Linked DNA regions of Homo sapiens: region 2 is linked to region 1. The links are contacts of gene promoters, found by promoter capture Hi-C in blood cells and fetal thymus (Javierre and others, 2016). All regions are on one chromosome and are shown on one strand. Each heading gives the region's core, a stretch centred on a gene start or on the middle of the fragment in contact. The rest is flanking DNA. Distances are from core to core; before and after follow the strand shown.

Region 1 (5,160 bases), core at 1,947-4,446:
CTCATCATCTCAAAAAGTGTGATCAGTCCACCCTTCCCCAGCTCCAGTTGCCAGTAACCATTGATCTAATTTCTGTCCCTATACTTTAATTTTTTACTTTGAAATAATCATTTACCCATAGGTAGTTGCAAAGAGGGCCCAGGTACACTTTCTCAAATGGGAACATCTTACAAAGCTATGGAAAAATATCAAAAGCCAGGAAACTGACATTGGTACAATACTATCAAGTAGACTACAGACCTTATTCAGATTTCACCAGTGCTTACATCCATTAGCTTATTTGAAAAAACATAATTGGGCCATAGTATGAAAGAAGGGTCAGCCTAGCAAAAACACGCATTAGTTACAGTTGTCCACAGAAGAAAGGAGAACTCAGGAGGGTGCAGAGAGAGGAAGGGACTGGAGGAAAACATTTCTGGAGTGGAACAAAAATCATTTGGTAGACAATTTGGTATAAGGATTTAAATTAATCCTTCTTGATCTTCTTTTCTTTTTTGAGACAGAGTGTCACACTGTCACTCAGACTAGGATGTGGTGGTACAATCACGGCTCACTGCAGACTCGACCTCCTGGGCTCAAGCAATCCTCCCACCTCAGCCTCCTGAGTATTTGGGACCAAAGGCGGATGCCACCACGCCCAGCTAATTTTTTTTTTTTTTTTGAGACGGAGTCTCACTCTGTCATCCAGGCTGGAATGCTCCCAGGTTCAAGCAGTTCTCTGCCTCAGCCTCCCAAGTAGCTGGGATTACAGGCGCGTGCCACCACATCAGGCTAATTTTTGTATTTTTAGTAGAGATGGGGTTTCACCATCTTGGCCAGGCTGATCTTGAACTCCTGACCTCGTGATCCACCTGCCTCGGCCTCCCAAAGTGCTGGGATTACAGGTATGAGCCACTGCTCCTGGCCGCTAATTTTTATATTTTCCGTAGAGATAGGGTTTCGCCCAGGCTGGAAATTAATCCTTTTTTTGGAAATGAAATTTCCCATATGGCAGGGCAGCAAGCAAAAGGTTGTTTTAAATTGAACAGCCTGACCGCTAAGTGAATGAAGGTCATGAAAACCCCAAATAACCATAATATTTCTGCTTACTCTTATTTAAAGAGGAAAAAAAATGGTTTAGTTACTCTCTCCTTACTCTTGCCTGACTGAAAAAAATGAAGTAACTGTCGAAAACAAAGTTATCTGTTTAGTTAGCTAACCCTCTGCAAAACCAAGCAAATGAAATCTCTATATTTACTCTTAGTCCCTCCTGCAGTTCAGTACTGTTGTAGGCTTTCCTATCTGCTCCACCATTTTATCAGACTACAGCACTGATAATGCCTTAATCTCTATACAATTTATTTATAGACATCACTTACCCATCAGGAGACAATGGGATCAGCGTTGTTCTCCCCATTTTTACAGCCCAAGAAATTGAGGCTCCTGATACCCAGGATCACATATGCCAACACCGTAAAATGCTCAGAAAGGCATCGACACAGAGCTTTACTTAATACCCTTCTTTCTACTCCACCACACCCCATTTACGGCCAGGTTGGATCTCTTTCTACAAGAGAAATGGAATAAATTTGTGCAGGAGCTCCATACAGGCAATAAAAATATCTCTGGTGACAAAGTCCTCATTTAAACTCCAGTTTGTTTATCACTAGTTACTACCAAATACAGTCCCTTGGGAGTTCTGAGTGACCCAAAACCTACTTCCTGGACTTCAAGATGAGCTTTTAGTTTCTTTGAAATCAGGAAGTGTCTTAAAACCAGATTCAATGAAATACGGTAACAATCTTTTTACTGTGTCCTGTGCTAGGTATTTTATATGCATTTTAGCACTTAACCTCCAAACCTCTTATTATTAAACCTCTGTTGTTACGTCCATTTTAAAGATAGAAAAGTCAGGGCACAGAGAGGTTTAGAGATCACACAGCCAGCAAATGGTGGACAGTATAAGAGTAACCTCAAAGCAAGCAGTACCCCAGATTCCAATTTCAGTTGACTTAGCCTGGTAACAGTTCAATTTTATGCAAAACCCACAACTTCAAATGGAAAAAGATAAATTAAAACAACCACAAAAACCAGACAAATGGAGGCTCAGCAGGCCTTGTAGCTCATCCACGGTTACACAGAGGATCTCAGAGCCAAAATTCCATGGCCGATCCGTCTTGACTTCAAAGCGCGATCTATTTCCACCAAACCACGGAACCATCGACACGTGGTAAGGGGCAGTACAAAGATTTGTTGAATTAATAATGCCTGAAAACAAATTGACAATAAGAAGGTAAAAATGGAAAACACAGATAAAATCGGAAAAGCAGACCACTTTCAGGAAACAAAAAACTCCAAATTTTCAAGGCAGGGCATTCACGGTGAGCCAAGGCGCTGGGACAAAGTTTGCGCGGGTACCGCCGGACTCCCGGGCTGCCCGGCGCGGAGTCTTTAACGGAGATGGTTCGCAAGGAATCGGCCTCGGAGCCCGGCAGCCTCCTGGCTTCCCTCCTGACCACCAGTAACCCGGCCGGGAAACACTGGCGAAGACCGGGGGCCAGTCGCCTTCCCTTTCTGGGCTGTTGGCTTAAAATACACACAAACACAAGTCCCCAGGCGGTCCGCGGCCTCTCAGTGGGGCTGGAGCTCGCTGCCCGAGGCCCGCCCGGAAGCCATGCACCTGCGGACAGGAGTCTCTCCGAGTCGCAGCTCGCCGCCGAGAAGCACCCACCTCCCGCGGCCGGCGCAGCCCAAGGCCCTGGCCCCTATAGCCCGGCCTAGGCCCGCCCCAGGCGGGGCTAGGGGCGGCGTGGCGGGCGGGCGCCCCTCGGGCCGCGCCGGTGAGCAGCGGGAGCCGGCGCCGGGCATTTCCTCTTCCTCCCTACGCGCGGCGCGGCGGCGGCGGCGGCGGCCAGGCCGAGGCTGGGCACGGGCGCCCGATCGCGGCCTGCTGGCTAGCGCGGGCAAGCGCCGCGCCCCGAGCCGCCGTCGCCGCGTCGCCCCCGTCGCGACCGCCGGCCGCGGGGCCTCCGGGCGGCTGGGCCCGGCGAGGGCAGCGAGAGGCGGGGCTGGCGTGCGGGCGGCGGAAGGAGGCGGAGGAGGAGGAAGAGGAGGAGGAGGAGGCGGCGGCCGGGAGCCGGGGGAGAGGGGCGGGGGGTGGGCCGGGGGAGGGGAGGAGCGGGATTTGCGGAGCGCCGCGCCGCTGCCGGGAGCCGGCAGGCCCGAGAGTGACCGGAGTCACGGCGGGCGCCGGCGGAGCTGCGGCGTCGGACCCGCCTCCTGGAGGAGCTCAGCCCCGACCAGGCCCGGCCCCATTCCCGCCCCGCGCCGCCTCCCCGCCGCCGCCGCCGCCGCCGCCGCGGGAGCGCTCCCCTGCCCACCCCGCCCCCGCGGCCGAGCCCGGGAGTCGAGTGGGAGTCGGCCGGCCGGCGCGGGCAGCGCCGGGACCCCGCGGGGGACACTGCAGCCGGAGCCCGGGAGGGGCCGCGCCGCCACCGTCTGAACTAGGATGTCCCGACATGAAGGTGAGAGGAGCCCCCGCCCCCACCCGCACCTCCCGGGCCTCGGCCTACCCCGCCCGGGCCGGGCGCGGCGGAGGGCGGCCGGGAAGCGGCGGAGACTTTGGCCGAGCCCGAGCCGGGCCCGAGGCGCTGGACCCGGGAGCGAGCGAGCGAGGGCGGAGAGCCGCGGCGCCGCTGCCGCCACGGCCGCGGCCCTTAGCTGGGCCTGGTGCTGGAGGCGGGGCGGCCCGGGCGGCCGGAGGGTTTGCACTGTCATGGGGCGGAGGGGGAGGGGAGGCGGCGGGGCCCGTTACCGGCGGGAGCTCGGCCTTCGGGACTGATACCGGACGCCAAGGCCCGCCCGGCCGGTTCAGGAGCCGCGGGCCCCAGCGCGGCCTAGCGCTCCCGCCGCCCCGGAAGAGCCCGGTGTGGTCGCAGAGCCGGGCCGCGGGCGGCAGCAGGAGGCAAAAGAGCCGGCCCGGGACCCGGCAGGCGCGTCCGGTCGCCGGGAGACGACGGCGAGTGTCCCCGCCTGCGGGCGACCGCGGGGCTGGCGGGAAGGCTCTGCGGCCAAGGGACGGGAAGCCCTCGCCGCCTGGAGCCCGCCCCGGCCTCGCGGCTAGGCCTCGGCGCGTCCCTGGGCTCGGGTAACCAAGTTCCCGGGGTGGATCCGACCCCGCCGCAGCAAGCAAACTCCCTGCTCAGTCACCCAGGCGGAGCAGGGCTCGCTCCCCGCGGCCCTGGTGCCCTCGCCGGCATGTGCTGCCTACCAGACCAGGTTTTGGAAAATGACGATGGTGAGGTCTGTTCATGGTCGGGGGTCGTTTTGGACCTTGTTTTGCCATTTTAAAACACGATTGGAGTACAGTTGCAAATAAGCAGACAGCTCTAAGCCCAGTCCCAGGGCACAAAGAGACAAATGTTTAGGGTCGATGTATAGGCTTTGAGCTGGTAAGAAATAAGTTAACTTTAATTTATTGCCATATGGTTTAGAAAAGGAGGAGGGGGTTGTGTTTTCTTTGTTTCACTACTACAGGTTTTTGGATAAAAAGTGTTAAGAGTCTTGGCGAAAAGTTTGTCCTGCTAAGGTTAATACAAGATTGTAGAAGTGGCTTGAAAGTTTGTGTACTCCGGATTTTAAAATCCTGTATAGGTGATGTAGGAGTGGAGAAAGTTTAGTGAGTCAGTTTAGTGTGTGCTTAGCACTATGGGAAGGATATTCTTTGGGAAATACGGACCTTAGAATTTCAAGGCTGAAAAACTCAGATTGATTAAAATTGTATTTAGAACAAGTTTCAAAATTCGCATTACTAATTGCGACGTTGAAATTGACTCAACATTCTGTGTTCAACGATTCTGTATTTTAAAAGTTACAAAACTAATATGAAATATACTATATTTTCTTCGCAAAGCATTTGTTGAGTACTTACAGTGTTCAAGTGTTGGGCATTTTGAAATAATGAGGTACCTAGCCTCATTGAAAGGGACACAGAAGTAGGAAGCTATGCCTCTTTTCCCCACTTCGTCTGCTTAATCGAAATGTATCCTTATCTCTGTAATTTTAAGAACTCGTAATTAAAGTTATAATCAGTTTTCAATTTGGGATATTAAAGTTTATCTTAAACTGTAGTCCTGTGTACATTGACCACCTTCAAGACAAAACAAAAGTGAGCAATGGCTG
Region 2 (4,941 bases), core at 595-3,094, 310 kb after region 1:
GGGATCCTGGCTCTAGGTCCCCAAAGTCACTGTTTACCATAGGGGTCCAGAGAGGCAGGAAGGACCGGTCACCAAAACTGGGACCCTTTGTGTCTGCTGATGGGCAAGTGGCCAAAAATGGGCGAGACCATGGGGCTGGAGCAAGGGGCGCTTTCTCTGCCTACTGGGCCTTTCCTCTAGAAGCAGCGGAAGGCGTTCTCTGGGCTGGAGTTTTCTCACCTGTGCAGTTTTTGGAGCTGACTTGTTTTCCTTGCATGCAACTGTGGGGAGCTGTGGATTCTGTAACATGAAGCTTTGTTTCCTCTGTTGCCCAGGCCCTGCTTAAAGGCTTTTCTGTGAGAACGTGCGAACAGGGAGAATGTGGGCATTCCCCCGAGCCCTGTAGAGTCCTGTCCACACTAAGCAAGTGTGGGACAGGGTGAGGACGGCTGGGGCGGGGCCCTCCCTACCTTCTGGGAGCCGGAGGGTTAATCTCCGTAGCTCATTGGCAGTCCTGCCTCTGTACAGGGCATGCTGGGATTTCCTCCCAGCTGTTTTACATCACGAAGATTTGTGTGTTGGGGAAATTCCAGGGCACAGCTGCAATTAATCTGCTCCATGGCTCCAATCAAAGCAAGGATTCTGTAGGATGGATTCTCCGCCTTCCTGCAGGAAAGGGGGCTCTAGCTCTCTAGTGACAGCATCCTTCAGAGGGACCCTTCCCGAGATCCACGTTGAGCAGAAACAGCCCGCCTGGCCAAGTGCTCGCCCCAAGGAGGGCTCTAAGGAGGGGCCCAAAACATTGAGAAAGAGAGGAGCAGAGCCCCTCTGAATAATAAAGCCACAAGGACACTGATGGCAACACTCGATAAAGATGTCACCCAAAGAAAAGAAAACTTTGTTCACCTTTACTTAGGAATGTAAAAGTCAAAAATTTAAAACATGACTAGCATTCCACAATACAGCGTAAGAAGGAACAAACCACCATGACCAAATAGGGCTTACCTGGGAAATGCAAAAATGCCTTCATGTAAGAAAATCTATTGCTATATATACATCTCATAAATGAGTCAAATAAGAGAAACCACATGACCATTTTGGTAAATGCCGAGAGAAAAATGCAACAACTGCTCCAATGAAAACAATGTAAAAATAGGATTAGAATCATCCTTCCTTAATGAGGTAAAGACATGTTTTAAACCACAGCCTCAGTCTACTTAACTGTGAACCACAGTAGCAGAACCCCAGTCCCCAGAAAAGTGTTTCTCAGATTCAGTGAGATTGGAAAACTGTGTATCTGTCCTGTCTTAGATAGTCACAACATATGTAAATCGAAGACAGTAGTACCTGCCGTTTGGGTTTGGTGTTTTCCTTTCTATTTTTGAGCATCCAAAAGCGGGTATTTAACCCATAGAAAGCACCCCAGAAGTGGGAGCGATCGCTATTGCCAGGCCATCAGTTGCATTGATGCCATTCATCACCATTTCAATGTGTTACATTCCGGTGGGCATCCCCCAGGAGGGAGGTGGCTGGACCAGCCCGTGTACACATCTTCGCTGTGGGCTGAAGCCCAGCCACGACACACTGGTCAGGAGCTGGGCCTTGCAGAGCCAGTTAAATGTAGCCTAGACTGGGCATGGAGAAACCAGCAGTTTTAACCTGCCCACATACCATTACCATGCAAAGAATCTAAGCACAGTCAGCCATCACTTACTTCCCCAAGGACATGCTCCCACCCATGAGTGATTGCCCTCAGGGTGATCGTGGGGTTGGCCTTACAGCTAAGAAGAGCTTTATTGGCTGGGCATGGTGGCTCACACCTGTAATCCCAGCACTTTGCGAGAGCAAGGCGGGAGGATTGCTTGAGCCCAGGCGTTGAAGACGAGCCTGGGCAACGTAGCAAGACCCCCATCTCTAAAAATAAAAAATAAAAATAAATAAATAAACAGAAGCACTTTATTTCCACTCTAGTTGGGCTAGGCCTGATGCTAGGAATTCAGAACTACCTGGCCATCTTCAAATGTCTAGTACTGCAGTGGAAGAGGATTACAAGGGTTGTCACTGGCTCCTGCTGCCCCAATTCACGGTTCTGGGAAGTTCAACTGTCCTTTCCTCAGAGTTGTGATGCAGAGGCCGTCCATGGCCAAGCTGTAGGGGCTCCAAAGTCTTAGAGCTCTTCCTCCTCCCCCCGTCACTCATCTCCAAAACTTAAAAAGACAAATAGAAAAGGGAAAGTCACGATCCTCCACACTCCTGCCTCCCAGAGTGAGTCCCTCCCTACACACCGCCCCTGCACCACCCCAGGCATGGCTGGAGCAGGGTCAGTCCCGGTGAGATGCTCACTGTTCCCAGGACCACCTCTCCCTTCTGGTCTTTTCCCTCACACTGCCTGACTTGTCTGTAAGGGGCCAGGTATCAGTGGTAGGCACGACCAGTGTGGTCTCCTCCCAGCAGAAGCCAAGACTTCTTGTTACATAGATAAAACAAGTACATGGTCAGACACCCAAAAGAGTGGCTGTTACTGAAAACCCTTACTATGAATGTGTGTACAAAATACAAGCATACATAAATGTACCTGTACCTTGATATCCCCAGCACCAAGGCAGACAAACCCTCATGGAGCTTGCAGTCTATTGGGTGCCAGCTCCTTGGCCACTAGAGCAGTGATTCTCAGTTGCGGGAGGGAAGATTCTCTCCCTCAGCCCCAGGAGACATTTGGCAAAATCTGGAGATATTTCTGATGATCTATATGGGAGTGCATCGGCATTTAGTATTATAGTTAGAGGCCAAAGATGTTGTTAAACTTTCCAGGACAGCCCACCACCCCCAATAAAAAAAGTATCCAGCCCAAAATGTCATAGTGCTGAGCCTGAGAAACCCTGCACTACAGTCCTACAAGCCGACTCTGCCAGACAATCTATAAGGTCACTTGAGAGGATTATTTAAGACCCAAAACTCTAGCACCATCCCAGACTAGGGTTTACATTTCTTTGGACCACCCCCATATGATCTAAGGACATCCCTGGTAAGCCAACAAGAATGAATGTGTGTCTTTGTGGCCCTAAATAGGGGGCAGATGCTGGTAGAGTTGATGGATTTTTAGGTACCCATCTATCCTGTTTAATATTAGGGGGTATAGATTTGGGATACTTCTCTTTAGCACCTGGTAGTTGTTATTGTAGTTTAATTTTTAAAACCAGAAATGTTCAAGTTGTTGCTTCTAGAAAAACGAGTGTGGTGTTTAGGCTTCAAGTGCAAGCTCTGGGCACCTTCAGCATCCCTCCAGGAGAACACTGACATGCATGGACCCATTCTGTTTCTGGGTGGCCAGCCCCGTGCAAGACAGAGAAGGAGAGAGAAAACACATCCGAGCAAAGAGAAGGCTGCGGGTGGAGAGTTGAGGAAGACAGTCTTAGGAAAAGCTTCGTGACTTGGTCTTGTGCAAGGTGTGGGATTTGAAGTCCAGAGACCTAGGCTCCAGCTCCAGCTGTCTTGTATGAAGTTGGGGAAGCGTTTAGCCTTTGTTTATGTCCATTAGCTCCTTTTTTTTTTTTTTTTTTTTTGAGACAAGGTCTCACTCTGTCACCCAGGCTGGAGTGCAGTGGTGTGATCTCGGTTCACTGCAACCTCCGCCTCCTGGGTTCAAGTGATTCTTCTGCCTCAGCCTCCCAAGAAGGTGGGACTACAGGCACACGCCACCATGCCCAGCTAATTTTTGTATTTTTAGTAAGAGACGGGGTTTCACCATGTTGGCCAGGCTGGTCTTGAACTCTTGACCTCGAATGATTTGCCCACCTTGGCCTCCCAAAGTGCTGGGATTACAGGCATAGCCACTGCGCCCGGCCTAGCTCCTTTTAAAATTTGGGATAGTCACCCCTACTTGTCATTGCAGGGTTGATGTGCAGATTACACTGGGTTTTGTGTGTGAAAATGCTTTGACAAGTGCAAATGTAGCACAAATGTTATTCACAGTGAAAATGAGTTTTAACTATTGATACCAATATTTGCCCAGTGCTTTTAACTTGCCACAGGCATTGAAATCCCAGTTAATTCATGTCGGGTGTGTGGGCTCTGGGTAGGGCAAGGGATGGGTGGTGGTGGGAAGGGAGGAAGAAGATAGGGTCAGCAGAGGACAGGGACAGAGGTGACACCCCATTTGAGGGCTGAGGGGTGGGGGTACAGAGGTCGCAAAGTGAAAAGACTGTCCTAATTCATAGGGCTTCGTTCCCACTTCCCACCAGGTCTCCCGCGCCAGGCCTGCTTGGCCCATCCCATGTGCTAGTCTGGCCTGTGGCACGTGTGACCTTAAGTTGTTGTTCCTGCCCATGGACACCTTTTTGAAAGCCCAGTCAGTCCCTGCCATCTTGGTCAAGACTTATGGTGAATGAAGAGCAAAGGGGCCTTCTGGGGCTCTTCCCATCGCCCTCCTGCTCCTGTACACAGCAGAGCCAGATTGTGATTGATTTTTCCTGATATTACATGACCAGAGTGAGGGATGATTCAAAGGCTTCTTTTTTTTTCTTTTTTGAGATAAAGTCTCACTCTGTCGTCCAGGCTGTAGTGCCATGGCACGATCTTGGCTCACTGCAACCTCCACCTCCCAGACTCAAGCGATTCTCCTGCCTCAGCCTCCCGAGTAGCTGGGACTATAGTCCTGCGCCACCACACCCAGCTATTTTTTGTTTTTTTAGTAGAGACGAAGTTTCACCATGTTGGCCAGGCTGGTCTTGAACTCCTGACCTCAAGTGATCCATCCACCTTGGCCTCCCAAAGTGCTGGGATTACAGGCATGAGCCACTGCACCCAGCCAAAGACTTCTTTCTGTGAAACTTCCTGGGGCCACCACTTTCCGTTACAGCTTTCATTCTCAAAGGAGTCTCAAGAATTCTGCAAAGAGGCTGCTTGCGGGTCTGTTGCCCAGAAGCAACCTGTCAGCGTTGACACTAAGACAACATGTGTGCT

What was found. Contacts are between HindIII fragments. The CHiCAGO score rates a contact against its expected background, and 5 or more counts as called.
Region 2: a contact is called between a fragment that was not itself captured here and the fragment with the promoter of KCMF1 in region 1, in 2 of 17 cell types (M1 macrophages and M0 macrophages). The highest score is 7.1, in M1 macrophages.

Annotation. Positions count from the first base shown.
Region 1 is chr2:84,967,965-84,973,124 of GRCh38, forward strand. It overlaps KCMF1 (potassium channel modulatory factor 1), which reads left to right and starts at 3,197. Exons shown (of 7, transcript NM_020122.5): 1 at 3,197-3,503. The coding sequence starts at 3,488. RefSeq lists an enhancer at 2,124-2,203 and silencers at 2,702-2,951, 2,982-4,071. The HindIII fragment of the contact is 10,310 bases long and covers 1-5,160 here.
Region 2 is chr2:85,277,500-85,282,440 of GRCh38, forward strand. All of the region lies in intron 3 of TCF7L1 (transcription factor 7 like 1), which reads left to right. Among named protein-coding and RNA genes, the nearest start is that of TGOLN2, 48 kb to the right of the region's middle. The HindIII fragment of the contact is 3,109 bases long and covers 291-3,399 here.